Linked DNA regions of Homo sapiens: all the other regions are linked to region 7. The links are contacts of gene promoters, found by promoter capture Hi-C in human tissues and cell types (Jung and others, 2019). All regions are on one chromosome and are shown on one strand. The core of a region is centred on a gene start or on the middle of the fragment in contact, and the rest is flanking DNA. Distances in the headings are between cores, read along the strand shown. Region 1 has its middle 120 kb from the start of LINC02424. Region 2 has its middle 190 kb from the start of LINC02424. Region 3 overlaps SYT1 (synaptotagmin 1). Region 4 has its middle 140 kb from the start of LINC02424. Region 5 overlaps SYT1 (synaptotagmin 1). Region 6 overlaps SYT1 (synaptotagmin 1). Region 7 holds the start of SYT1 (synaptotagmin 1).

Evidence for each region. Contacts are between HindIII fragments. The study calls those that stand out against the background at their distance.
Region 1: a fragment that was not itself captured here is called in contact with the fragment with the promoter of SYT1 in region 7 in 3 of the 25 tissues and cell types used here (bladder, dorsolateral prefrontal cortex and neural progenitor cells).
Region 2: a fragment that was not itself captured here is called in contact with the fragment with the promoter of SYT1 in region 7 in 1 of the 25 tissues and cell types used here (dorsolateral prefrontal cortex).
Region 3: a contact is called between a fragment that was not itself captured here and the fragment with the promoter of SYT1 in region 7, in 2 of the 25 tissues and cell types used here (H1 embryonic stem cells and dorsolateral prefrontal cortex).
Region 4: a fragment that was not itself captured here is called in contact with the fragment with the promoter of SYT1 in region 7 in 2 of the 25 tissues and cell types used here (dorsolateral prefrontal cortex and mesenchymal stem cells).
Region 5: a fragment that was not itself captured here is called in contact with the fragment with the promoter of SYT1 in region 7 in 1 of the 25 tissues and cell types used here (hippocampus).
Region 6: a contact is called between a fragment that was not itself captured here and the fragment with the promoter of SYT1 in region 7, in 1 of the 25 tissues and cell types used here (hippocampus).

What each region holds. Positions count from the first base shown.
Region 1 is chr12:78,475,763-78,479,506 of GRCh38, forward strand. No RefSeq gene overlaps it. Among named protein-coding and RNA genes, the nearest start is that of LINC02424, 120 kb to the left of the region's middle. The HindIII fragment of the contact is 4,897 bases long and covers 1-3,744 here.
Region 2 is chr12:78,549,908-78,553,318 of GRCh38, forward strand. No RefSeq gene overlaps it. Among named protein-coding and RNA genes, the nearest start is that of LINC02424, 190 kb to the left of the region's middle. The HindIII fragment of the contact is 5,459 bases long and covers 1-3,411 here.
Region 3 is chr12:79,188,974-79,192,408 of GRCh38, forward strand. All of the region lies in intron 3 of SYT1 (synaptotagmin 1), which reads left to right. Among named protein-coding and RNA genes, the nearest start is that of MIR1252, 230 kb to the right of the region's middle. The HindIII fragment of the contact is 6,639 bases long and covers 1-3,435 here.
Region 4 is chr12:78,500,291-78,503,923 of GRCh38, forward strand. No RefSeq gene overlaps it. Among named protein-coding and RNA genes, the nearest start is that of LINC02424, 140 kb to the left of the region's middle. The HindIII fragment of the contact is 3,425 bases long and covers 2-3,426 here.
Region 5 is chr12:79,266,227-79,269,693 of GRCh38, forward strand. All of the region lies in intron 4 of SYT1 (synaptotagmin 1), which reads left to right. Among named protein-coding and RNA genes, the nearest start is that of MIR1252, 150 kb to the right of the region's middle. The HindIII fragment of the contact is 3,828 bases long and covers 229-3,467 here.
Region 6 is chr12:79,286,948-79,290,532 of GRCh38, forward strand. All of the region lies in intron 5 of SYT1 (synaptotagmin 1), which reads left to right. Among named protein-coding and RNA genes, the nearest start is that of MIR1252, 130 kb to the right of the region's middle. The HindIII fragment of the contact is 6,617 bases long and covers 1-3,585 here.
Region 7 is chr12:78,863,524-78,867,214 of GRCh38, forward strand. It overlaps SYT1 (synaptotagmin 1), which reads left to right and starts at 1,251. Exons shown (of 11, transcript NM_005639.3): 1 at 1,251-1,586. RefSeq lists a silencer at 35-94. The HindIII fragment of the contact is 3,235 bases long and covers 1-1,615 here.

The sequences.
Region 1 (3,744 bases), core at 565-3,064, 390 kb before region 7:
TGTCAGCTGCTTCTTGTAATTCTCTTACTTTTGTCATTTAAAATCTATATTAAGTGCAAACTATTTAGAATTATGTAATCCTTATGATTTAAAATTTTAAATTAGCTGTGTTTCAATTTATCTTCAGTAATTTTTTTAAAGTCTATTATGTTTGATAGTAGACTATATATAGCTATATCTGATTGTTACAACCCTTAATTTTTAATATTTCTGATTATTTATGTTTAAAAAGTGTCTCTTATAAATTCAATATAGTAAATCTTTTTAATCCAATGTGAAAATACCTGTTTTAACTGATAATTTTACTTAATATTTACTGTTTATCAATATACTTGCATTTAGTATTATTAGACCTAGCTTTCAATATATATGTTGCTTTTTCTTTTTAATATTAGAGTACCTCATTTGAAATGCTTGAGATATTTATATATGTGTTGCTCTACTGGTTTGTAAGTTATACCTTGATTTTTAATCAATGGCCATAAACATTTAACATGCATATTTAGCTATGTCTAAAGTAAATTAATATTTCTAAGCTTCTTCTGAACAATTTAGTAATTTTTTTACACCCAACAACTTTTTCAGTTTACATATTATTGTTTCCCAGTCTTTTAATTGTAGCAGAACAATTTTGGTTTTAGCCCCCAAATTATTATTACCATTGCATTATACATTTATTGCTTGTTTAGATGCATCCACATATTTATGATTTTCTTAGGTCATCAATCTAGGTTGTCTTCTGGATTTTATTATTTTTTCTGTCGACAGTCTACTTAAATTTATTTGTTTCTGTGATGGGCCTAGAGATTGACAGAGCACACTAATTATTGGGTTTCTAAGTCATCTTATACTTGAGAAGCTTCAGCTCAGTGCACAAGCCTCTGTCTATTACAGACAAATCACTGCCATGCCATCCTCTGAAACTCTAAGAATTTAAGAAACTCTAAGAATTTAAAAGTGATTTAACCCCAAAAGTAGTGGATAATTTTGATACTAGCTCTTCCCTGCCTTCACCTCCACCTCCACCTCTTGCCTCCCATTCATGATCCCCCCCATTCCTTTATTGACAATGTCAGATACAAAAGAAGTTCCTCTTCAAAGGTTTGGCTTGTTAAGCACCCTTGTTCTTTGTTCTCTACTTCCAAGGGCAGACAAACTTCCTTATCCTTTGTGCCTGTCTTAGTTTCAGTAAACAACCTTCCCACTGGTCCTTATCTACAGAGACCACATCTGCTACCCACTCTATAAATTACTCCTACTGTCACAATAGCTCTTCCCACCAAAAATGCCCTTCTTGCCAGTGTAACCACTTTCCTGCACCTTTCAAGTTAGCCAATCGAGTTCAGCTTAGATTGTGCGGTTCAACTTCAGCCAGTGGAGGGATAAAAACCCCCTTCCCTCCTTTGTTCAGTGCACTCTCGTCATGACCAGACTTGTAAGCAGCACTCTTCTGCAGAAGTAAATTTTGCATTGATGAGAAATCCTTTAACTGCTCATTTTCTTTGTGACTCCAAGCTCTACTTCCAACAGTTCTGGGGGCTTGTGTGGGATCCCATTCTCCTCCAGGGAAGGGTCTCTGGTCACCTCCTGGGAGGAGACATGTCACACTGCCTCATTGCTTTGGCCTCAGGGGCTGGAGATCAAGACCTACCCATTGTGATGAATAAATCCAGGCTCTCAGCAATGCAGGGAGAAAAAGTTTTGTCTATCAACACTGCAGCAACCAGGTAATTCTGTGCACAGACCAAGGTAAGAAAGAAACGTTGCAGGGGCAACAAAGTATCTCCTTGGGGGTTGGGGATATCTTGGAGGTTTAAAGTGCATGAATGGTAACAAGCACTACTGCTATGTGAAGTGAGTCCAATCTGCAGTTCCGTGGTCACCTCGTACAGCTTAGTGCAGCCCTTCGGGGGTCCCCTCAGGGATTTATACTGACCTGCCAATTCTAAGAGGAACCTGAAATATTCCCTCTGGGGAAGTGGCCAGAGAAGATGAAACAAAAGGAGAAGAATGCAAGGAACCTGCAGCAGGTGGGGTTAAACCTCTAGAGAAGGGAAGGCAAGAAATCTCTAGTACAAGGGATTATGCCTCAGCCAGCCTCTAAAGAAGGGAGGGCAAGAAATCTCTAGTATGAGGGATTGAGCTTAACCAGCACCCAAGATAGGAAATACCCCAAGTAAGGCAGGGAGTAAGAAGGATAGAGCTAACAAAAATCATATTCCCCTTGATAGTCCCCTGGTTCTCATGTTAAAATATTGGAAAGATAATGAAAGTACTAAACATAAGAAAAAGCAACAAATGATAAAGTATTGCTGTATTATTGGGATTCAGGGACCCATCCTCAAACCCTCAATTTTCTGGCCGAAGTTTGGGTCAAATGAGGATGTAATGTGTCAGCTTTTAGTTCAATATTTAAATGATAGAAGTTTGGTTTCTCAAGAAGAACTGGACAATGCGCTTTGTTGGAAACAGGTACCTGTCCTCCTTTTTCCCTTAAAAACAAGGGAAAATTTCAACTTAACACCTCAAGAGGAGAAGTCAGACAAGCTAGTCCCCATGCCTAAAGACCCTAATGCATGGGATCCCCTAGACCATCTTCCCCCACTCGGTACCCCACAACCCTTCCCCTCAGGAAGCAGCTGCCATGATAAATCCCATTCTAGATCCTTCCACTGCTCACATTATCCCTCCTCCTTACAACCCCGACTCTTTGGAATTAGCATCTCATGAGCCTGTCCTTTACCTGTCCCTAAGAGGACTCCAACATGAGACAGAGCAATACAAAAAGGATATGCAAAACTTCCCTTGCCCCTGCCACCCAAGTATCAATTTCAACTTTCTTCCCCTTAAGAGAGGTGCCACAGGGAGGGGGAGCCATTGTGTTCATAAATGCTCTCCTCACCGGTTCAGAAGTTTGAAGTTTAAAAAAAGAACTCAAACCACTGTTACATGACCCTTATAGAGTGGCAGATCAAATTGATCAATTTTTAGGACCTCAGTTATATACTTGGGTCGAATTAAAGTCCATCTTAGGTATCCTCTTTTTGGGGAGGAAAGAAGTATGATCGGTAGGGCTGCTATGGTAGTCTGGGAATGTGAACATCTTCCTGGTCAAAATGTTCCTACCACGGACCAAAAGTTCCCTGCCCAAGACCCCCAGTGGGACAATAACAATGTGGCCCACTGGGAAAATTATGCAAGATTTAAGGGAAATGATAATAACAGGAATTCGGGAATCAGTGCCCCAGACTCAAAATCTCTCTAAAGCATTTGATATACAGCAAGGAAAGGATGAAGGCCCTTTGGAATTCCTAAACAGACTGAAAGAGCAAATGAGGAAATATGCAGGCCTAAATTTAGAAGATCCCCTTGGGCAAGGGATGTTAAAATTCCATTTTGTCATGAAGTTTGTCAGACATTTCAAAGAAATTACAGAAAATAGAGAATTGGGAAGACTATCCCCTAAATGAACTTCTCAGAGAAGCTCAAAAGGTATAGGTGAGGAGAGATGAAGAAAAGCAGAAACAAAAAACAAAACTCATATTATCTACCTTCTAACAAACAGATGGCTCCAAATCCATACGCTTCTAAACAAAGCCACCAGGGGCCAGGAACTATAAAGGGTCCAAGCTTCCATCTAGAGAACCAGGACCCAGACCCCCAGTTACCAGGCCCTCTAAAGAGTATGGGAGAGCAAAGTCAAAGAATCCCAGAACAGAGACGGAGGAAGGAGAAGATAGATGT
Region 2 (3,411 bases), core at 549-3,048, 310 kb before region 7:
GAAGAAAGTAGTTAAACAAGGACTTGCTGCCAATTTGGGAATTTCTATTGAGTTCTTATTGTTTTATTTTAAAAGACTCCAAGGTCCATTTCAGCTTTAAGATTGCATGCTTCTTTTAATCCATCTGTGAATAAGGTTTTTTCACAGTATAAGATTTAGAGAGTAGGAGTATTGGGTTAACTTTTGCATAGCTCTTGAACCATAGAGCAAATCATTTGCTTCATTTAACTTCTATTTGAATGACCAAATTTGCAAAGATTCTCATCAAGTTTAATGTCTACACTTAACTGTACTCTTTCTTATAAGTATACAGTGAAGTCCTAGCAAATTAAGTTCATACCTAAGAGAAACACAAGGCTTATTTATAAGTTCCCAGGTGGTTTTAGAAGTTGAGTAAAACAACCAACTGGACTTACCCAACAGTGGTTTCATGCCATTACTGAGAGAGTACAATAGATATTATCTACTTGAAGGAGGATAATGATGTTGAATCTATAAAACCATACATAAAACTACGTTGAAAGCAAAGCTATGTCTCATCCATTCAGATATTGAGGAAACAAATATATTATAGAATTATAGGCTATTTTAAATAAAGACGTATAAGACAATAAATCAAAAGTTTAACAAAATATGACCTGATAGAAGCAAAACTACATTTATTCTGTGAAAGGTATTCTTTCAACAAATAGACAGGCATTATTACAATTAATATAACAAATAAACTTAAGTAGACGCACTTAGGATTAAAAAGTTTGGTTTCCCTCATAGCTTAAAAAATATTGATAGATCTGTAACCTATTAATATGCCTGTTAATCTCTTTTCTGTGATAATCTACATTAGTCTTAACCTAAAATAATCAAAATGTTTATGCAGACAATTTCCTTGATGAAACTGTAATACACTGATAGCATTACCTGTAGAGCAAAGAGAATGCTATAGAAATATACCTCACAAAAGAGAGAAAAACCTACAGTTTTTTGGATGACTCTTAAAGGAGGCTCAGTCCTGAAATTTCTGCTTCCCTGACATAAATAAATTATTTACACAGGTCACAACTAATTGCATATTTTGGTACTTCGCATTCTGCTGCGTGGCTGCAAACACAACCTGAGCTGTTGACATGGTACAGATGGTTCACAGTTCCTGGAACAAACTCAGAAGAATTTGTAATGAATGATCATCGTTTCAAAAATTTTGCATTTTTCCTCTTCTTTGCAGGAACTGTTTAGTACAATTTTCATTGTAAAACACAAATGCACAAAGTTGTGTCACACATTTGAAAAAGAACATTTTTTACAAATAATTTGACATCAAAATGTCGAGTAAACAATTTCAATGATAGTGTGTTTTAGCGTGATTAAATATTTTAGAAGAAACAACATGAATATTTTCCTGCATCTCACTTTACTCAAATATTCAATGAAAACAATACCCACCTCACTGGGTATTGAAAAGAAGAATAAATAGAAAGCCTAAGGGTTATGTTAAATGTCAACACATATTTTCATTATTATTGCTTAGAGTTTAATTCAATGAGATCTATCTATTTTCAATTTCATATATAATTATGAACTTGTAATAGTGTAGGGCCTCAGAAAATGATGCCCCAAAGTATGGCTCATTGACATGCTGAGTACTGTAAACTGAAGGGAATCAGGAGGGCCTCAGAAGAGACAGTCTCTGACCTTCTCATAGTACTTTTTCTTGCACACTCCTTTATCCTCCAACATGAATCACAGAAATAAGAATTTCTCTTCCCCAAGGCAGGTCACAGAACTCCTATCCTCCAACGCAAGCCATAAAACCTAGAAAGGTCACTCTTTGACCTACCTCCCCTGAAAGTAGTTCATATGACCCTTGTGTGACAAGTGTCCTGTCCTATACCTCAGGGGAAGGGATGACTCTACGAAACCATAGCCTAAAAAAGAGAGGCTAAGAAGGATCTGAACAAACAGGTTTTGCAGGGTTTCCCCCAGTTTATTACCATCATGTTCTTTTTGTCCAGTCAAATTTCTCTGCAAATATCCATGTGTTTTGTCGATCCAACATAAAAATATACAGTATTCCTTGGGTCTTTGTGTCTTCATTTCTGAAGGGTTCTATTTCATGTGAAACTTTGTTACATAAATGTATTGTGCTTTTCTCTTACAAATCTGTTTCTTCTCTTAAATCTGTTAGGAATATCAGTCATGGACCTTGAGATGGGTGAGGAAAATACATTACTTTTTTGCTCATATACTAAGCACAGTGGTAAATGAGAGTATATATGTAAGAGACGGACATGAGTTCAACCAGTTATAAGGTCAACTGTGACACTAGAATAGATTGATGGTGGTAATAAGTTCCACATTGACAGTGAGGGATGATTGAGGAAGATGATCTGGGAGACAGGTTTAAGGATACTCATGTTGTAGGTTCCCCTTGACCAAAAATATTCCACATTCATATAGTCCAAACTTTCCCCCACTGTACGCTCTCATGTAGTCAGATGTTCTGTCATTATAGCAACCCTTATTTGGTTCAGAAGCTTTTAAAACAAAAGTATTGTGGGTTGGTAAGAAAGTAAATGATGGGATTCATTTTTCTATTTTTTAGTCATATTTATTTTCTAGCATCTTCTAAATCTTTTAGTACCCTTTCATAGCTCTAGGCCTTTGAAAGTACAATTCTCTGCTTGGAATGCACATTTTCTCTCCCTTCCTGCCTACTACAGCATTTATCTGACAAATGTACTCACCTTTTAAAACTCAGCATAAGATTACTTCCTCTGTGGACCCTTTCCTAAATCTCCCAGAATGGGGAGCTGCCTTCCTCAGGGCTCTCACAAGGTTCTCCTTTAGTCTTTTAATGCATTTATCAGACCATCTATTATAATTTGTCTATACTTGACAGTGAGATACCGAAAAACAAAGATGTATCTTATGTATATTGTATTTCCTAAAATTCAGTATCCGAATTGTGTTTCTAACAGATGTTTTTACTTCAGTTGACAGATACAATTGTTTTATAATATCATAATCTGCTAAAATTAGCATAGAGACAGAAACATAGCTGCGGGAGTAAGAGAGGCAAGTTAGAGATAATGAAAAATTGTTAGAAATGGAAGTTCTAGGAAGGCATATGGAAACAAGACTCCAGTAACCTCCAGTTGAGAAAAAGAGTTTCAAGGTGATAGAAACAGCTGTAGACTTTTAAGATAAATCAAAAGCCAAATTGCCCACTCGTCAACTCTGCTCAAGGTAGACTCTGAGAAGAGGGTCCTCAAATTTAAGTTACCGTTGCTTTGAATTCTATCCTCTGCAAAATAGCCACAGGAGTACACTGTAGTAGGCTTTATTGGATTTTATTATTTCCCTCTCTCTTCCTTTTTACTCTCCAGTAGTTTAGTTAGTGTGCTAAGCTCAGTT
Region 3 (3,435 bases), core at 162-2,661, 330 kb after region 7:
ATGCTCAAGCTCTGAAAGTAGCTCTTTCTCAGTCAGGCTTCTAACTTCTATGATGGTTGCATCAACTTTAATGTTCTAATTTTTAGCACAGCTAATGGAGTAAACTGTAACTGAGTAAAAAGATGACTAGACCACTATCTAGCTTTCTGACTTTTGGAAGCAACCATCCCTTTCTGAATGTTATTTGCCTCCTCTAAAATTAGGAGGCTCAAGCTATTTCTTAAAAAAGAGTTCTGCAATAAGCTTCTTGGGTTTGAATTCAGATTCTATCACTTTACTAGCTCTGTGGTCTTGTACAAACTATTTAGTCTGTCTACACTTTAATTTCCTTACTGTAACATGGAGATCATTGCAGTATCTACTATAGAAGGAATTCTATCAAATGATGTTGGCCTAGTTGACTTTCAATAACTTTTAGCTATTGTTTGATTCAGAGGTATGTTCAAGTCATTATAGCTATGTAAAACAATTAAAATAACTGAAAAATGTGAACAATTCCCAAATATTTGTATAATAGCTGACATTTTATTAAGTGTTTATTATATGAGAAACACTAAGTTCTTGATTTGTATATTTCAATTATTCCTCTCAGTAACACAGTATAGAAGATATAATTATCCCTGGTTTACCCATGAAAAAATTAACCTAGGAAAAGCATGGTGACTCACACCTGTAATCCCAGCACTTTGGGAAGCCAAGGCAGGCAGATCACCTGAGGTCAAGAGTTTGAGACTAGCCTGGCTAACATGACAAAACCTCGTCTCTACTAAAAATACAAAAATTAGCCAGACATGGTGGTTCATTCCTGTAGACCCAGTTACTCTGGAGGCTGAGGAAGGAGAATCACTTGAACCCAGGAGGCGGAGGTTGCAGTGAGCTGAGATCGTGCCACTGCACTCCAGCCTGGGTGACAGAACAAGACTGTGTCTCAAAAAAATAAATATAAATAACTTAAATAAGCACACAGTCACACAAGTGAAAAAGTGCTGGAAGTGGCATATAAAGGGGAGCGTGTTTTCCCCCAGAGTTCACTCTTTTAATCACTGGACTGTATTTTGCCTTCCACTCTGGTGGAAGACCTCTGCCTTCAGTCTAGATGACTAATGCATAATTAACTGCAGCACTACATCCTGAAGAAAATCAACCTGTCCATGTTTCTTGAATCATTTTTACAATTAATATCTGATTTATATTTCTTCTTTTCCGAACTTGCCAGAGAATTTTAGAACATGATGCATATATATTTTTCAAGCATGCAAATCCATAAAGTCAAAGAGAGTTTTTGAACCACAGCTTGTTACTCCCCTACCTTCTTTCCTGTCAAAATCACCTGTGAAGAATCAACTTTCTCAGAAAGCTCAGCAACTTATTGAGATTTGGCCTGGAATTCACATAAAACTAGATAAAATTAGTGCTAAAAGGCCTATAAGAGCACCATAAAATAATTGACATCAAAACACCCACACACACACATACATTTTCATTTCAAATGTAAGAAGCCAGAGCTCTGACCCCATTGCTTTCCATAGCTGGCGAAAAGTATGACTTTTGAAATCGATACATTGCAATCTCCATGTTACCATCCTAGTGCAGTACTCCACAGCACCGGCGCCAGGAAGAAACATCAGTGTTTCATTCTCCAGATTAATGATCTCCTTTCAGAGAAATGACTTTCAGCTATTTTAGACTATATGCCCTTCATTTGAGAAGCAGTTTGTATTCATTCACTTACAGTCAATATTCACTAATATCATGGATTGATGGAGTTAAAAAGCTTTTCATTAGTTCTGTTAGCAAGGCTAATTTTTATAGCATTTGATCATTTTACTTCTAGTTGCCCCTCTTTTTTTCAGAACTTTGTGTCCCCCAATCATTCTTTTGATAGAGTAATATATTACATGTTTTGTATCTACAAAGATGTGTCCATGTCCCCAATAATGAGAGCAGCTACTCACAAAACAAGGTTCCTGTTTCTTGAACTAATTATGCACAGAAATTTCTACCTCTCACTTACCAATGAGATAATTAAAATGTGAGTCTTGGAGCAGAGAGGATTAGAGGTTTAGATGCTTGTATAATACATATATTACTGGCTAGTAATTTGTACTGAAAAAAACATAAATATAAATATATATATATGTATAAACTCTTTGCTCCATTTCTCATGTATCTTATTATTTGTTTATTTTTGCAGATGTTATTATTCCTAAATTCAAATTGGTCACAGGTTCATTCAAGAAAAACACTATACCAACGTAACTACATACCAATTATAAAAATAAGGAATGTCTTGATGAAACATAGATATGGGGATAGAATAGATATTCCTGATCTCTAAGTGTACATCAACAGTAGGGTTCTTTCCTCATTAAGTTTAACTTACCAAGAACATGTGTAAAAACTCTATTTTGCTGTTCAAAGACATTCACATGAAATTTTTTTAGTGAAGTAGCAGATCCAAGTACATGAAGAGCCTTGGGAATAAAAATAGGCAAAGCCTTATAATAATGATTCCTGCTAATAGAAATATTTATAATTACACTATGACATCCTGTTTTTAGTTGCTATGCAATTAACATTTTCTCTTTTCTTCTACTTCCTCTTACACTTATACACATGAGGATATGTGGGTTTCATTATGCCAGGATGACTAGGTAGAGACATTTGTTGATATTTTAAGAATTTTAAGACATTTCTAGACTTCAAAAATGCATGGTTAGTTGTTTCTTTTTTATTGTCAAAAACTTGTAGTGGACATTGCTATGCTTCAGGGACTTCACACATACATAACATCTCCTTTAATCCTCATGTAACCTCTGAGGACTTGCTGGTCTAGTATGGAATATGGGACATATACCTGAATAACCACAACTTAAGACACAAAATGGTGACGGCCATGAGCAAGGTACAGAGATCAGTAGCCATAACCGTGCAGAAGAAAAATGTTGCTTCTACCTGAAAAAAATAAAAAAGGTTCCTTTAAGTGGTGACATTAGGAGCTGACCTGAGGGGAAAACAATGGTACTTTTAATATCAATCCACCCCTATAACTTCCCCTTAACTTTAGATGTGTATCATTAGCATTATTCTTGTGTTAAAACATTAGGGGGATGCTTTGGCAAGAACCTGAAATGAAGACAAGCGTGCAAGTAAAAAGGAAAGAGATTGAAGGTCTAAGAATGTCAGAAATACCTAGCAAGGACTAGGAGTGAGAAGGAACAGGAGTGTGTGTTTTAGTGAAAAGAGATCACATAGGATGAAAGGAACCAAAATCTATTCCTAAGGAGTTAAAAATAAAAGGATGCAGAGTAGGAAAATCATTGTTTGATTCTCCTTTGATAGAATTACCAGTTGATATCATTAAGACAGTCTAGTTTATTTGTTGCCTGAATTGACCTATGCAGATGCCAAAGGAGACCTTTTGTCTTCAGGATG
Region 4 (3,633 bases), core at 464-2,963, 360 kb before region 7:
TTGAGTGAAAACAGTCAAATTGAGCATGTAGAGCAGCTCTAACCCAAGGGGATATTAAATAGGGCACATGTACAAAGCTATACATTTTTAGGTAAGAAGAAGAGGATTCTTCCCTTTCAGCACATAAACATGTTTGGCCCAGGGCAGAGCAAGAGAATGACACACTTGGTCTTTTTCTCATAAACAAAGGTCTTGCTATTTCACCTCCAAAGCAATTTTCTAGGCTATGTTTTTACTATTTTTGAAGTGAGAAAGAAAGATTTCTGATGTAACCCTGAAAGCAGGAGAACCATTTTTTTGCTGCAAGCATAGTGTATTATCAATTTGGTGTGAGGCCTGGAGAGCACGGAAGTGATCACTTCTTAGTGCAGAGGGGAGAAAGTTCTGAGTTTGCACAAATTAGTAGTTTTCATTGTTTATAGAAGATGATCAAAAATTCATAAATTTCAGAAAAACATGGAATCAGAAATTGATGTTTTATTTTCTTCTATGTTACTTTAGCTGGATATTTTCAGCCATTTTCAGAATGGTTTATATTATTAATTTTATATTCATAGAATCATTGACCTTAAGAAGCTTTGCTCTAATAGAAACTTCATTCTGTTTTTCCATCCAATCAGATCAATAATCAATCTAGTTAATCAGCAAGCAACTAGTAGGGGTCTGTTCTATCCCAGATGAACTCTAGGTATAATTCCTAAACAATGCAATTTTAATATACAAAGGAGGTAATACAAAAGAGCCTGAGGATATTGGCAAGCATGCAAGCCTATGCAAATTATGCAAGTTCCATCTATTTTAAAGTGCTGTATTGTGTTATATAAATGTATAACCATATGTTACAAAACCAAAATCAGGACCCATGTTCCAATAAATTATTTTTGTGCCATTACTGGATATGAGAAACTGTCTGGGAAAGGTAGTTTAAGTGCTGTAATGATGGAGTTTTTAGGATATTTTAATGGTTTATGGGGACCGCAAACAGATATTTGAAATTAGTTTTGTCTCCAAAAACCTGAGATAAAAACTTATTTGGAAACTCAGATATAATAAATAATAAAAACCAGACTATTACTTAGATCTTTATATTGATAGACTATTGGAAAAGATTTGTTCTTATTTTTCTCTATGTTAGTAAAAAAAATTACCCTGGATAAACGTTTGAGAAACTGTATGTTGAAAATAATGTAATATGATTTTATGCACATATTAAGCTTGATTTTGCTAGCAGATTATATTTTGGTAAACAGAAAAGGTAAGAAGATGTTTCAGGTTAGAAAAATGAAATGTTTTAATAAACAGAATCAAGACAAATTTTTGGCACATTTGTAGGATTATGAGAGGGTGAAACTATTTGAGCAAAAAATACATATTATAGATTAGTGGGCATGAAGAACCATCAGCAAAATAAAGCCAGGATTATGGAAGGCTTGGAAAACCAGACAGTCTAGGCATGTTGGATTATCTGGATTATTTAGATACTCCTATTGCAGTAAGGCATAGAGTCAAATATAAAGTTGCCATGACTTTATATTTCTTAAAAGATGTACTAATGATAGATAGGTGTACTTAGTTATGACTATACTTTGATACTGTTCTAAAATTTGAGATCTTACTTTTCTAATGATTTAACGCATAGAAACTACTTATTTTCCTTCTCCTCCTCCCCCATCTCCTCCTCCCTGTCTCTGCCTCTGTATTTCCACACACACATACACGTGTGTGCTCAAGAAAGTTGATTAACCTCACATGTGTGTATATATATACACACATATATGGAGGTCAATTAAACTTGGCTGAATATAAGAAAATGAATTAATGGCCAGGTGCAGTAGCTCAGTCCTGAAATCCCACCACTTTTGGAGACCAGGTGAGATGATCACTTGAGGCCAGGAGTTTGAAACCAGCCTGGGCAACATAGTGAAACCCTGTCTTTACAAGGAATTAAGAATTAGCTATATGTGGTGGTGATGCCTGTACTCAGGATGCTGAGGCAGGAGGATGGCTTGGGCCAGGAGTTCAAGGCTATATTGAGCTGTGGTTGCCCTACTGCATTCCAGCCTAGGCGACAGAGCAGAGACTCTGTCTGAAAAAAAAAGAAAGAAAAAAATGAATTATTTTACTATGTCTTTTTTATTTTTCCTATGACACTATGATTTTCTGCCTTGCTGTTATCATCTAAAAACGTTTTTAAGTTATTGAAGAGAAACAAATCCCATCCTAAGAATTGGAAGATGGTGAAGGAAACTAGTATGTATGAAGCCAAAGCTACTTGACAATCACTGATCTGGATGACTTATATGCGCACATCAATTCAACCTTCTAACCAACTACAGGAATGAATATCTCCATTCTGCAAATGAGAATATTGGAAACCAAAGAGGTTAATCAACTTTCTTGAGAGTACACAGTAGGAAAATGTCAGAGGCCAATTTGAATCCAGATCTATCTGGCTCCAAAACCCATACTCTTTTCTCTGTATACATCTTTATTCAAACAAAATACTGCCACCACAGGGTCAGTGGCCTAGAAGATTAAAACTGCTTTGATCTTTTCAATCCCACATCTGTTTGAAATAATTCAACTAAGTTTCTTTTTGTTTCACCCTTCAATTATGGACCGTAAAACAGTCACTTGTTGATTGATTTAATGGAAAAAAAACTATTAAAATCTTTCTTTGTGCATGAAAAGCCATAAGATACATCAGAAATCTTAGATCCCATGACTGTTGTTTGTAGTCAACAGAGAATATAAACTATAGGCAGTTTTCCTGATAATAAAAAGTGAGAGTAGTGTTTCTGGAATTAAAAAAATAAAAAGTTGGCAAAATAGAATTGGTTTTCTTTTTTCTATGCTTCTCTGCCATCCACATTTAGTGCTAATTCTATCTGAATGGCAGAAAGTACAAATGAAAAATCACAGTCTAATCACATGCTGGCCTTATAATATGTTACCCCAGTCAATTTCCTGTACAATATATGCTTCCCTTATTCACTTTGCCCCTGTCTGTGTATCAGCCACTCCTTTACCTGATAGTTTATTAAGGAAAAGAAAACTTAAGCTTTTCACAGCTCTTTTGTTCTATGCAGTAATTATCCTTCTTGCCTCATTCACTTAACCCAATTACTTCTGTTCCTTTTCTTAGAGAAATAATATCAACTAGCTTGTCCTACATGGGAGGACCTGCTTGAAGCACATTGCAAGTTCTGACTTACATATTCCTTGTACTTAACCCTATAAGGCTAGTTCTCTTATCATCCCTTCTTTACCCATGTGGCTTCTGCGGCATAAAGTGGTTATGGAGTAGGGATTTGAACCCATACACTCTGACTAGAGTCCACATACTTAACCCCTGCATTGTGCCATTCAATGCCAAGAAGGAAATTAAACTGTTCTGCCTCATTTTTACTAGTAGTAAAATGTGGATAATATTTTCTAAATTTCAGAATCATCAGGATTAAATTAGATCATTTATGAAGGGGATTATCATAGTATTTGAACAAAGCATTTTCTCAATAGATATTATATATTCTACATAATTCTATATATTAAGTTTACTTATATATTTAATACAAGTAAACTATAACATATATTAATTATTAGAATCATTGTCTTCTTCATCATTGTGATGTG
Region 5 (3,467 bases), core at 893-3,392, 400 kb after region 7:
GCCTCCCCCATGTTAGAAAGACAAGTCACAAAGCTACTAGAAAACAAAGATTGATATATGATAATACAAAACAAAAGGAGTGAATACATGCAGATGTGAAACAAAATAAAGGGCTTATATATGGTATTACTCAGGTAGACATTTGGAAGAAATCTTTTGGGAGCAATGTCTTATTTTGGCAAAGAAAAAAAAATAAAGGGGATTCTACATCCTTAAGGGAGATCTGTGAAAACCTACAATAGCAAGAGTCATGCAGGGCCTTGTGGTCATGTGCTTACAGTTGCAGTGCTTAGAATACAAACTCTAAACAGAAGAGGCATATGATGGTAAAAGAAAAAAATCATGAAGAAAAAGTAACTGTGTAAAAGACTGACAGGTATAGGGAAGTCCCTTCAGACGCAAGAACAGACAATAAATCAAGGATCATGGGAGTTGTAGAATAAAGTTGACAGTTTAAAAGCCAGGAAACAAAAAGAAAAACTGCTGCTACACTTTGAAAATTGGACAGATAAAATTGCCATGGAGAGAAACTGATTGACAAAAACAGAGCAAACTACAGATTGGGAGGAAAATTAATAAGCTTGGTCTGTAGCAGCACAAATCCATTGGATAATCAAAGAAAAATGTCCCGTGGATACTTAGGCAAGTGAGGGGCTTTGTTTTCACTGTTGCCTACCTGTCACTTTGTATAGTAATGAAATTAATGAGCCTGAATCTTCCCTTTCATGACTGTAAAGACTCAAACGCCCTGTTCTTCTCCACCCAAGCATAGCAGCCATGCAATTCTGCTGTCAATGCAATCAAATCTTTCCAAGTTACAGAGAATTCTAAAAACGTCCTCACTTGTTTCTAGAATCTTAAAAGAAAGGTAGTGGAGGAAAAAAAATCCTTCCAAAAAACAAGTAATAAGGCATTTTTGTTTACTTATTGCTTATAGCTGTTGGCCTTAAATTATAAAATATCAGGGAATATATCTGCCCCTTTAGCTGATAATCTTTTATCATAATTGAATTTAATCTCAATAACATTAAATTGCTTAGAAAAGAAACAAAGTAGATATTAAGATATTGAATTATTCAGAAGCTATCAACAGGGGCCATGTTCAATTCTTGGAATGAATTTCTTTTTCTCAGGCATCTTTGCCAAAGTTGGAAAACAGGTTAACAAAATTGTTAACCAAATTGAAAGTGTCAAAATAAAGCCAAATACAAATTGGGTCAGAATCCAAGAGCTGCCTATTGTGAAGTCTTCTAACGTAAAAGTTGAAAAGAAAGTTAGCTTCCTTGACAAAAGAAAAAAAAGACTAAGAGGTTATGTGTTTTTAGTTTTGAACTTAGAAATCAGAACTCAAGAAAGACATACTGAAAATTTCATAGGATGAATGGATTTCCCTTTAACCACAATATTGTGTTGTCCACAGCATGAATGAAAACTGTTACAAACTTCCAAAGGCTTCAGATGATTAGCCTGTGAATTGCCTTCACCTCTGCCAACTTACCTGGCATCCTTTACGTTTACCAGCGCACTTCTCCCTGGAGCCTGCAGACAGCAAGCTCCTGGGCTGACTGTGGAGGCTTATCTAAATCCTCTGAAAGTTGTGCTGGGGTTTATCTCTGCCTGAAGACCCATCATTTTGCATGTCAAATGTCAGACATTCCAATACTGTGAAGATATAGATGGCTTTGCCTTATCATTTAAAGCAGACTAATATTATTATAGGCATTTTATAAAATTAATTATTTGACCAATACATGTGCAGATAAAACGTCCTTCATTCAACTAACTTCCATCATCAAGACTAATCATTGCCTGCAGTGAGAAACATCAGTAACCTTAATAAGTTATTCAGTAGGGACTGTGAATTTGTTCAACAGCACAGGAAGTACAGAAATCAGATCAAAGGGTAGAGGATCTGGTAAAAATTTATCGAAGCATAGATTGTGACTTTGTGTATATCAAAACAATATGATATACTTTACTAAAGTTTTGATGTATTGACAGTTGAGTTTATGGGCAAAGAGAGGCAGATTTACGATTCTATTAAATGTTAAGGATTTTTAAAAAATCATCGAAAAAATTGTATTCATTTGACATGTAAAATAAGTTTGCCGTGACTATATAGCAGAATCAAAATCCATTAACCATGGATTAATCATTAACCCTTTAATTTGGAATTAAGATGATATGTGGTATTTTTCACAGTATTTCATATATGTTAGTCAAATCTGCCCAAGCAGACTGTAAACTAATAAATTATTTCAAACTTGTTCAAATGGATGAGTGAATGAATGAGTGAATGAATGAATGAATGAGTCTCTCTTCTAGATTACTGTTAACCACAATTTATCTGCCCTAAAAAGTCACAGGTAACTGACCCAAGTCAATGGCTTGGAGCATTTTTACAGTATTTTTGCACAGACATATATTCCAGTTTCCTCTTTGTCAGGAACACAAATTGAAAAGAGAAATAGAGCTATGTGGGAGGAGAATGTGACATGTATTCTTAAGGAGACAATTCTGAAGGCTATTTGGAGAAGGCTACATGAATTTACTACAAGGAAACATCTTTTCATCTACTATGATAGAAAAATCTAATGCAGATTTTGATAAGTCTGTATCATATTGAAAGCTCTGTTTAACAGAGTAATCACTGGCTGACAAATTAGATTAAAAGGAGTCTGAAAACCAAAGGAAAGAAAGGAAGGAAAGAGAAAGGATGAAAGAGAGGCAGGTAGGAAAAGAAACGGTGTCTTCCAAATACTATTTTCACCGTGGAGCAAGAAGGGCTTTGGAGCATACCTCAGAACGTAGCTCCTCCATGAAGTCGTTTTTGAATTCCAGGCCCCTTTTATCTTGCCCTTCTCTTTTTTTTTTTTTTATTGAATATCAATAAATTTATTGAATGCCAGATTCTGGGCTCAATGTTTTCATACATTTGTTCGCTTAATCCTTACAGCAATCCTGTGAGGCAGGTAGTGTTCTCTTAATTTACAGGTAGAAAACTGTGAAACAGAGAATTTTTTTATTGTAAATAAAGTCCCTCTCCATGAGCTTTATATATATATCTTGCCCTTCTCTAACCAGCTACCTATAAATCCTTTCTGCTCCACTGAATTTTGTGCTTAACTGTATTGCCTCCTATCTCTAGTTTTATTTTCTGGGAGTTAGTCTTTCTAAGCTCCTAGGGAAAGGGAACCATCCTTTCTGTGTTCTCTGTTCTCTCACTCCACCTCTGCATAAGTTCTCTCACTCCACCCCTGTATAGTTTAAACACACAGCAGATTGTCAGTAGGAAAGAAATGAACGGTTAAATGATCTGATGCAGGAATACGTTTTTCCTTTGGCCTTGGTGTGTCTTGCCTTGATGCTCTGAGAAACAGGTTTTTAATTTGGAGTCCAGTTGTCTTCCAGACCTGGAGAACAATAATCTGCACTCGGGTACCACATATTACCAACTGTATGAAAAA
Region 6 (3,585 bases), core at 216-2,715, 420 kb after region 7:
AATTCCTCTTATACTATTAATTACTATTAATCAAACTCTTAAACCTGAATCTCCTTAAGAACAATTTAATCAGGTGTTACAACAGGCATTTTAAGTACATTTGCGTTGTTTCCTAGTTCATTACACATTCAGGGACATTAACTCCCCTTCCCAGCTTCAGTTTTAAACTCTTTTTCCTCAAAGACACTATAGTATCTATTGATAATAATTTCACAAAGGCTCATGTTTTACTCCCTGCATTTTTGTTCTGTTTTGGAGCTATGGAATGGATGAAATGCCTGTACTCATACTCAGAGAGTTTTGGCCTGAGCTCGGAGTAGCAAGGGTTTGATTTTTCTGGCAATTTCTAATCACAGTCACAAAAGCCAATGCATAAACGTTCAACTACAGGTGTCTAATAAAGATTTTTCTCTTCAGTTAATTTAAGTAGAAACTAAAATTTCCAGGCATGTCTTACTTTATTTCCACACTTTTCATAGCAAGCAGGACTTGATAAAGATTTCTTTAAACAACTTATTGGGAGATTAAGTGTGGAAATAACCTCCTAGATGGACATGGACTGAATAATATGTATGTTAATTTTATCAATATTGTGAAAACAATAATTTGACAATAGATCACTATCTTTTTCATAATTATCATAAAATTTGAATGTGGTTTCCCTGTGTTCTAGAACTAATTAAAATTACTGAATAATGTTAAGTGATAACGATAGCATTTCTTCCTAGGACAATAAATCTATAATATTTGTGGGATTTGTTCTGTATGATGTAAAATTATAATTTACAGCATAGTGGTGGTGTTTATTACCCCTGTTATGACCTGGATAAATGACCAAGATCTCAAATATAGAGAATTAATGGGGGTTAATTTTTCATTGATGATCTATTTTTTGGATGGGGAGAGACAGAGAAAATGATTCAAACAAAGAAATATTAAGAAGTCAGTGATAGTTTATACTAATCTGTTATTGCAAATTATTTAGAATTTCAACCACTCAAAAAGATGTTTTCAGTTATTTTAGGTAGAGCACTTTGTCTACATAGGACATTAGCTAGGTCTCAATTTTTGTAAGTTATGAACAATTAAATTCACAGAATAAGGTACAATTTGGACAGATGAATATACACTCCAGGGATAAACGTTTATATAACCATAGCTTATGCTACTTTTTGAAGCAGACAAAAGTAGCTAATCATGGGTTCCATCATTTTATGAAGAGGAAGGCTAAAAAAGCAAAATAGAATGTGCAGATTTTAAGAGGATGTTTCATCACATGATGATCGCCAGATCACCCAAAATTCAAAACAGCATGAATACAAATTAAAATTATTATTAAATAATTATATTTTCAAAATATCTTCAGCAGAATGTTGAAGTGAACATGGGGAAGAAAATAAAGATGGCTTATGCCCTTCTCGTTTAAAAACAAGACAGATGTGAGAGGCATTTTAGATATAATTTCTTAATCTTAAGAAATATCTATATATAGGCTCTATATACAAGATATAAAGGCTCTAGGACAATCAATACATTTTTACCATTTTAATTCATATCAAATTCACAGAAATTCCAATTTCAATATTCATGGCTACATGTCTCTATAGTAAGGTTTTGCAACCAAGGAAGATTTTTTTAAATATTCTGCAATGACTACAAAAAGTATAGACATTTATGTTGCATAAGATATATATTTATGTGTTCTTTTGTATGTGTTAAAATTGGAGAACACTAACCAGACAGAGGGAAAATATTCACATGTAAAGTCATAGGTCTGGAAAGGTCATTTCTCCACGGTTTTCACTAATGTGTGTGGATATTTTAATTTTTATTTCTTCCTTCTATGTCCTTATCTGTGTTGTGTCTCATGACTGTTCTGGACTGTCCCTTGCGGTAGGTTTCCTCTGCTACTTAGACATCCCTAGTCAACGCTCAGATACATTTAGTGGCCTGGCACCTGGGGCTCCACAGCTGAGGGTATATCATTCTGACACACATCAAGAGGCTGAACTAAATTGATTTTTTTAAAGATAAGGTGTTCTCATTTTAAACACGCTAACAGATTAAATATAACAGTATTAGAAAGCTCAAGTTTTAAGTTGATGGACACAAAAAGAAATTCAGTCCCTTGTGCTACTTTTCTAGTGCGCCTTATTAAATCCAAATCTGAACAATGTAACTGAGAATGAACAAATGCTCCTTTTGATGGTTGCAAACAAAGCACCTGTTGAATGTCAAAGCAAACCATATGCATGCGCACTTAATCTTTGAAATTTAAGATAAGGTCTGATGTTCCCAACCCAGCTTTTTCTACTGCAATTTATCAAACCTCAGTACTGCTAGGTTTACAAGCTTTTTCTTCCGAATTTTGTTCTATGAAGAGGAAAATAGTGCTCTTGAGATATTATAATAGCTACTGATTTAATAGGTCTGAATTTAATATGATGGTACAGAAAATGTCTTGCTTAAGCTCAGCCTTTGGGACAGGAATAGACTTAATCACTTCAGTGATGAACAGTAGCACTGAGAAATTATCAAAAATTTAGCCCTATTTCATGCAGAATAATTGCAGAGATGGTCCTGCCTTCTATTCAGGTAAAAACCACTTAGGGAGAAGGAGATTTAATATATCAGCTATTTCAAATTGCATTGGGCTGAAACATGATACATAAATTCAGTTCTGAAAGAGACTTTTGAAAAAGGTATTTTAATCAATGAATTTTTCATTATAATAATAGAGCAACATGCAGATTTATCAAACAGAAGTAGATGTTAAATAGCTTGTTATTATTTTTTAAAAACCAAAATCTTATAGGGAGGCAAATTACCGAAGCTGCAATTTCCTGAGCACACCTAAGACAGTGTTAAAGACTTATACACAGCTAGGGTTTTGAAAGGGCAAAGGGATTCCACTGCCTGAAGTTCTCTAATTAAACTCAGTAGTTTTTTTTTTTTTTTTTGTCACTTTACTATCACGTTACCTTTAGTGACCAAGCCCCTTGTTCACAAATTAAACAATTAAAATAAATTTTAAAATATTTTCATGTTGTTTCCTGCCTTTAGCTATTAGTAAGTCAACATTTTAACATTCAAAGAAACAATGAAGCATAGATTAAACTTTCCAAATTAAGTGGTTTGTAGCTAACCAAATTTGATAATGTTTCTACACCGATGTATATCATGATGGCAATTTTCAATTTTCAAAACTCACTGAAGGCTCCTAAGAAATTTCCAGCAAACAAAGGGGAGGCATCACTGACAACAGCTCAATTCTGTTTATATGACCTTCCCACCTGAATGAGTTCTATTAAACTGTGATACAGCTGAGTCTCAGTTTTTTAGAATCAAATTGGAGTTAACCGGGTGAAGCCAAATTAGAAAATCTTGTAATTTCAAGGACTGAGGGTGCCATTTTGAAGCACCACTGAAGATCCCTGAGTAAGTGGGTGGATTGAACAGAGAATCTCCTTCCTGAGAATGCTGAACACAGCAAAGAAAAAAGACCATGTAGTCTTGGATGTGGGGGTAGCAGAGTGGAGGAACTGCGGTCTGATGACTGATGCCTATCTACAGCCTGGTTATACT
Region 7 (3,691 bases), core at 1-2,500:
GATAATGGACGGGCCCCTCTCCCAGCTGGGCTCCGCTCCCGCCCCTAGCCTGGCGCGCGGTCCCTTCCCCCACCCGCTGAGCCTTCCTGTTCGGTATTTCGGTATTACCAAGCTATAAATTGCCTGAGAGCTTAGAGACAATCAGGTCACCACCGCCCTCACAAGAGAAAAGCTTCTTACTTCCGAGCAGAACGGTTCAGCTGGGAAGAGAGGAAGCAGGGAGAGAATCTATGCTTTAGTCGTCACTGCTCTGGCAAGGGGTCGAGAGAGATGGGGGAGGGAGGTGGCAAAAAATAAAAATGAAAAAATAAAAAAGCATCTCCAACAATGTTGCACTTGACCCAAGTGTACAAACTTATTGGTCGCTGCAATGGAAACTCCCAGTGCACTCTCCACGGCCTGGCAGCCGCCGCTGATGGGTGGAGTCGCGCTCCCGGCCCCACCTATGGGACGGAGCTGCTTCTCCCGCATCTCGGCTCCACCGCACCCTTCGCGGGAAGTCCCCAGGCTTCCAGCAAAGCTCAGCTTATCCCGCCCCCGCTTCCAACCCGGAACCCCAGAAGAACAGCATGATGAGCCTCCGGCAGCCAGGTGGGCCACCTCCCCGCGGCTCAGTTTGAGGACACTTGTGCGGAACCCTTTCACATCCCCACCCTACCCAGCTTTCACAACTCCGCCGGGTTAAATGGCCAAAGACAAACTTCTACCTCTCCTGTCCCCGGTCCCAGCTTTTCAAAAACCCACAGCTGGCGAACCCACACACATCGAAACTCCTAGGTCGCTGTTGCAGTCTGGGCATGCTCAGTATCAGGGTAGGTTTTGATTGAGAGTAAAAAAAAAAAAAAAAAAGCTTTGTATTATGCTCTCTTTCTCCTGTGCATACTGCTTGCTGAACAGCTTGTGGGGCATTCCTGAGTCTACCTAGAGGTTTTATCAGACGCCCTTGATTGTGTCTCCTTGGGATCTGTTCCCCTCTTACTTCACCCCCTCCCCCAACCCGCCTCCACCCCGCTTCCCAGGTCCCTGTCCGCTGTGGGGATGGAGAGACACTAACAGAACTGGGATGGGCGATGTTGGCTGAACGGATCCACCTATTATTAGTGCGCGGGGATTGGCTCCTTGGCGCAGCGTACCCGAGGTGGAGCCAATCAGGATGCTGGGGCTCGGAGATGATGGGCGGCCGCCTCCTCACTGGAGGGATTCCTGGAGAAGCTGCAGTGTGGGGATGCTCTAGACCGAGTACTGCCCCCAGTGTCTTTCCACCTCCTCCTGCAGCAGCGGCAGCGGCAGCAGCAGTTAGCAGCGGCAACTTGAGGCTGCACCCCGGGCAAGTCCCCAGGGTGGTGCTCAGCCGAGAGGGGGGCTTGGCGCCCCGAAGGGGTGTGTGTAGGGTGGGGGCGACCACGTGGGACCAGCTGGTGGCCCTGGAAAACCTCCCACACACCCACACCCACACACCCCTTTTGTGTTGCAGGCTGCCCCTCCAAGAGCGGAGGCAGCGAGAGTACGCGTGTGCCTCGCGCCGGTCCACGCGGGGAGAGCACTGGGGACCGAGACCCGGCACCACCTCCCGGTCCGCCCTCCAGGTAAGGAAGCGGGACTGGCGGCGCGGCCACCTCGGCGGTGCCTATCTGCTCGAATCCATCCCAAAGATTTTCTTCTCGATACACTTGGGTTTTAGTGGTGGGAGTCTGAGACCTAGGGAGGGATCCCCGGGTGGCCTATTGTGAGAAATATGAGACTACATGTGCATCTCCTGGAAAAGCACTTTGCACAGCGCCCGTGATTTAGAGCCTGGAGTTGATGTTGGGCATCCCCCATCTTCTTGCTTCCTCTTTCCTTCTCTTGTTCTCTCTCCTCCGTCCCCCACCCCCAATCTCAATCTTTTCTCTCTTTCTCTCCCACACCTCCCCTCTCGCCCTCCTCCCACCCTAAGCACGCACAGCGTTTCTTTCTCCTCCTGGAGAGGATTGCCTTTCTTAGAGGAAAGAGGGGGAGTGAAGAAAGGAGAAAGATTTCTTTCTGTTGGGGAGAGGGATATGGGGGGGGGGGGGAACGTAAACAAGATAGAATACAAGCTCTGCGAAAATCAGAGCACATAAAGCAATTAAACTGAATAAGGGGAGTAGACAACCAGTCCAGCTTGGGCTGTCAGAGAGAGGAAGCGTCAAGTTTGACTTGATTTCCTCCTTGCAAGAGTCTATGTCTCTCACTTGATTCGTTCAAATGGAACAAAAATAAACCGACAATCCAACCCACTTTCAACTGCTTAATTGCTTTTGCTTTTGAGTGCCAACCATCTGACTTTTCCTGTTTCCATCTGTCCTGTGGGGCTAACAATTTGGTATTGCACATCAGTGTTAATATCTGAACTTTGAAAGCTTTCTTGAGTAACAAAAAAAAAAAAACAATTAAAATAGATTATTACTTTCCTGAGGTTTCTTGGTATGGCCTGTTGTTGGGGGATCAAAAAATGTAAAGTTTCAAAACATTTGCAAGGGACAACAATTTTATAGGGAGGCTTGGATTTCTACTTTGAGAAAGCTAATCTTCTAGTTAGCTTTGTGTACATGTTGATATTCACTTTCTCCAGTATTAACCCTTTCGTGAAATAAAGCAACTGTTTAACTTTTGTATGGAAGCTACATTTGTGTAGAATTTTCACTTTATTCTACCTTTGTACTATTTGCATTTTATTGTCTGGATACCAAACTTATGCCTGGCTTTATTTTCTTTTAATAGGACAATATTTAATGGATGTAAACATGATGTTTATACAATTTCAGCACTCCCTTTAGAAGGCACATGGAGGCTCAGTTGGACAAGAATCCTCCTGTACTGGAACTAAGTTTAGAAAGTAATGCTAGAAAGATACCCTAAATTTTAAAAATCCTGAAGGGGAAAACATTTTTGTAACGTCTTGTTAAAAGAAAGAAAAATATATCAAAACACCAACATGCCCCTGGCTGCCTGCATAATAGGTCAAGTAAATGGTACTTGTTGGACAGAGCCTTTACAGCAGCTTCAGCAGTCTCTAATTCCATCATTGGGGATATAAGCTTTCTTTTCTTATTATTCTTCAGGGACAGCTAAGCGATAGTACTGTCAGATGGAAGGAGGTATAGAGAAATGCCTCGTTTGATGTAATAGGAAAGCATTCCAAGTGGGTCTTACCTGAACACAGAGAAATCCACAGATGTTAGTATACAAAACACTTCTTTTTATTTATCAGGGGAAATGCAGAGTCTTACTTTTTTTTGTCTAGAACTCCACTTGATATAAGAAAAGAGAATCTTCTATCTTAACTGTGTCTGACCTTCCACACTAATTTTGTATCTCAGAGAGTATTTTTTCACTACGTACGTTTAATATATAAGTTTACACACCAACTTAGAGAAGAGCTGAATTCATTTGCCATCAGTGTAATGTGTACTATTTTCCAAACCATTTTGCATTTGAGGCAATGATCTCTCCCTAAATAGAATTACCAAGTCACGAAAAACGATTTTCTTTCTAGGGCTTTGACATTTAAATGAAAAAAAAAAAAAAATAGTGTCTCTGTTGAAAGCTAACTCTGGTTTTTAGAGGTGCCACCTTTTGGTTACAAGGACAAAGGGACAATCACTTAATTACCTCACATGTATGTACAACTGAATTAACAAGTTTAGACATGAAAAGATGTACAAAAAGG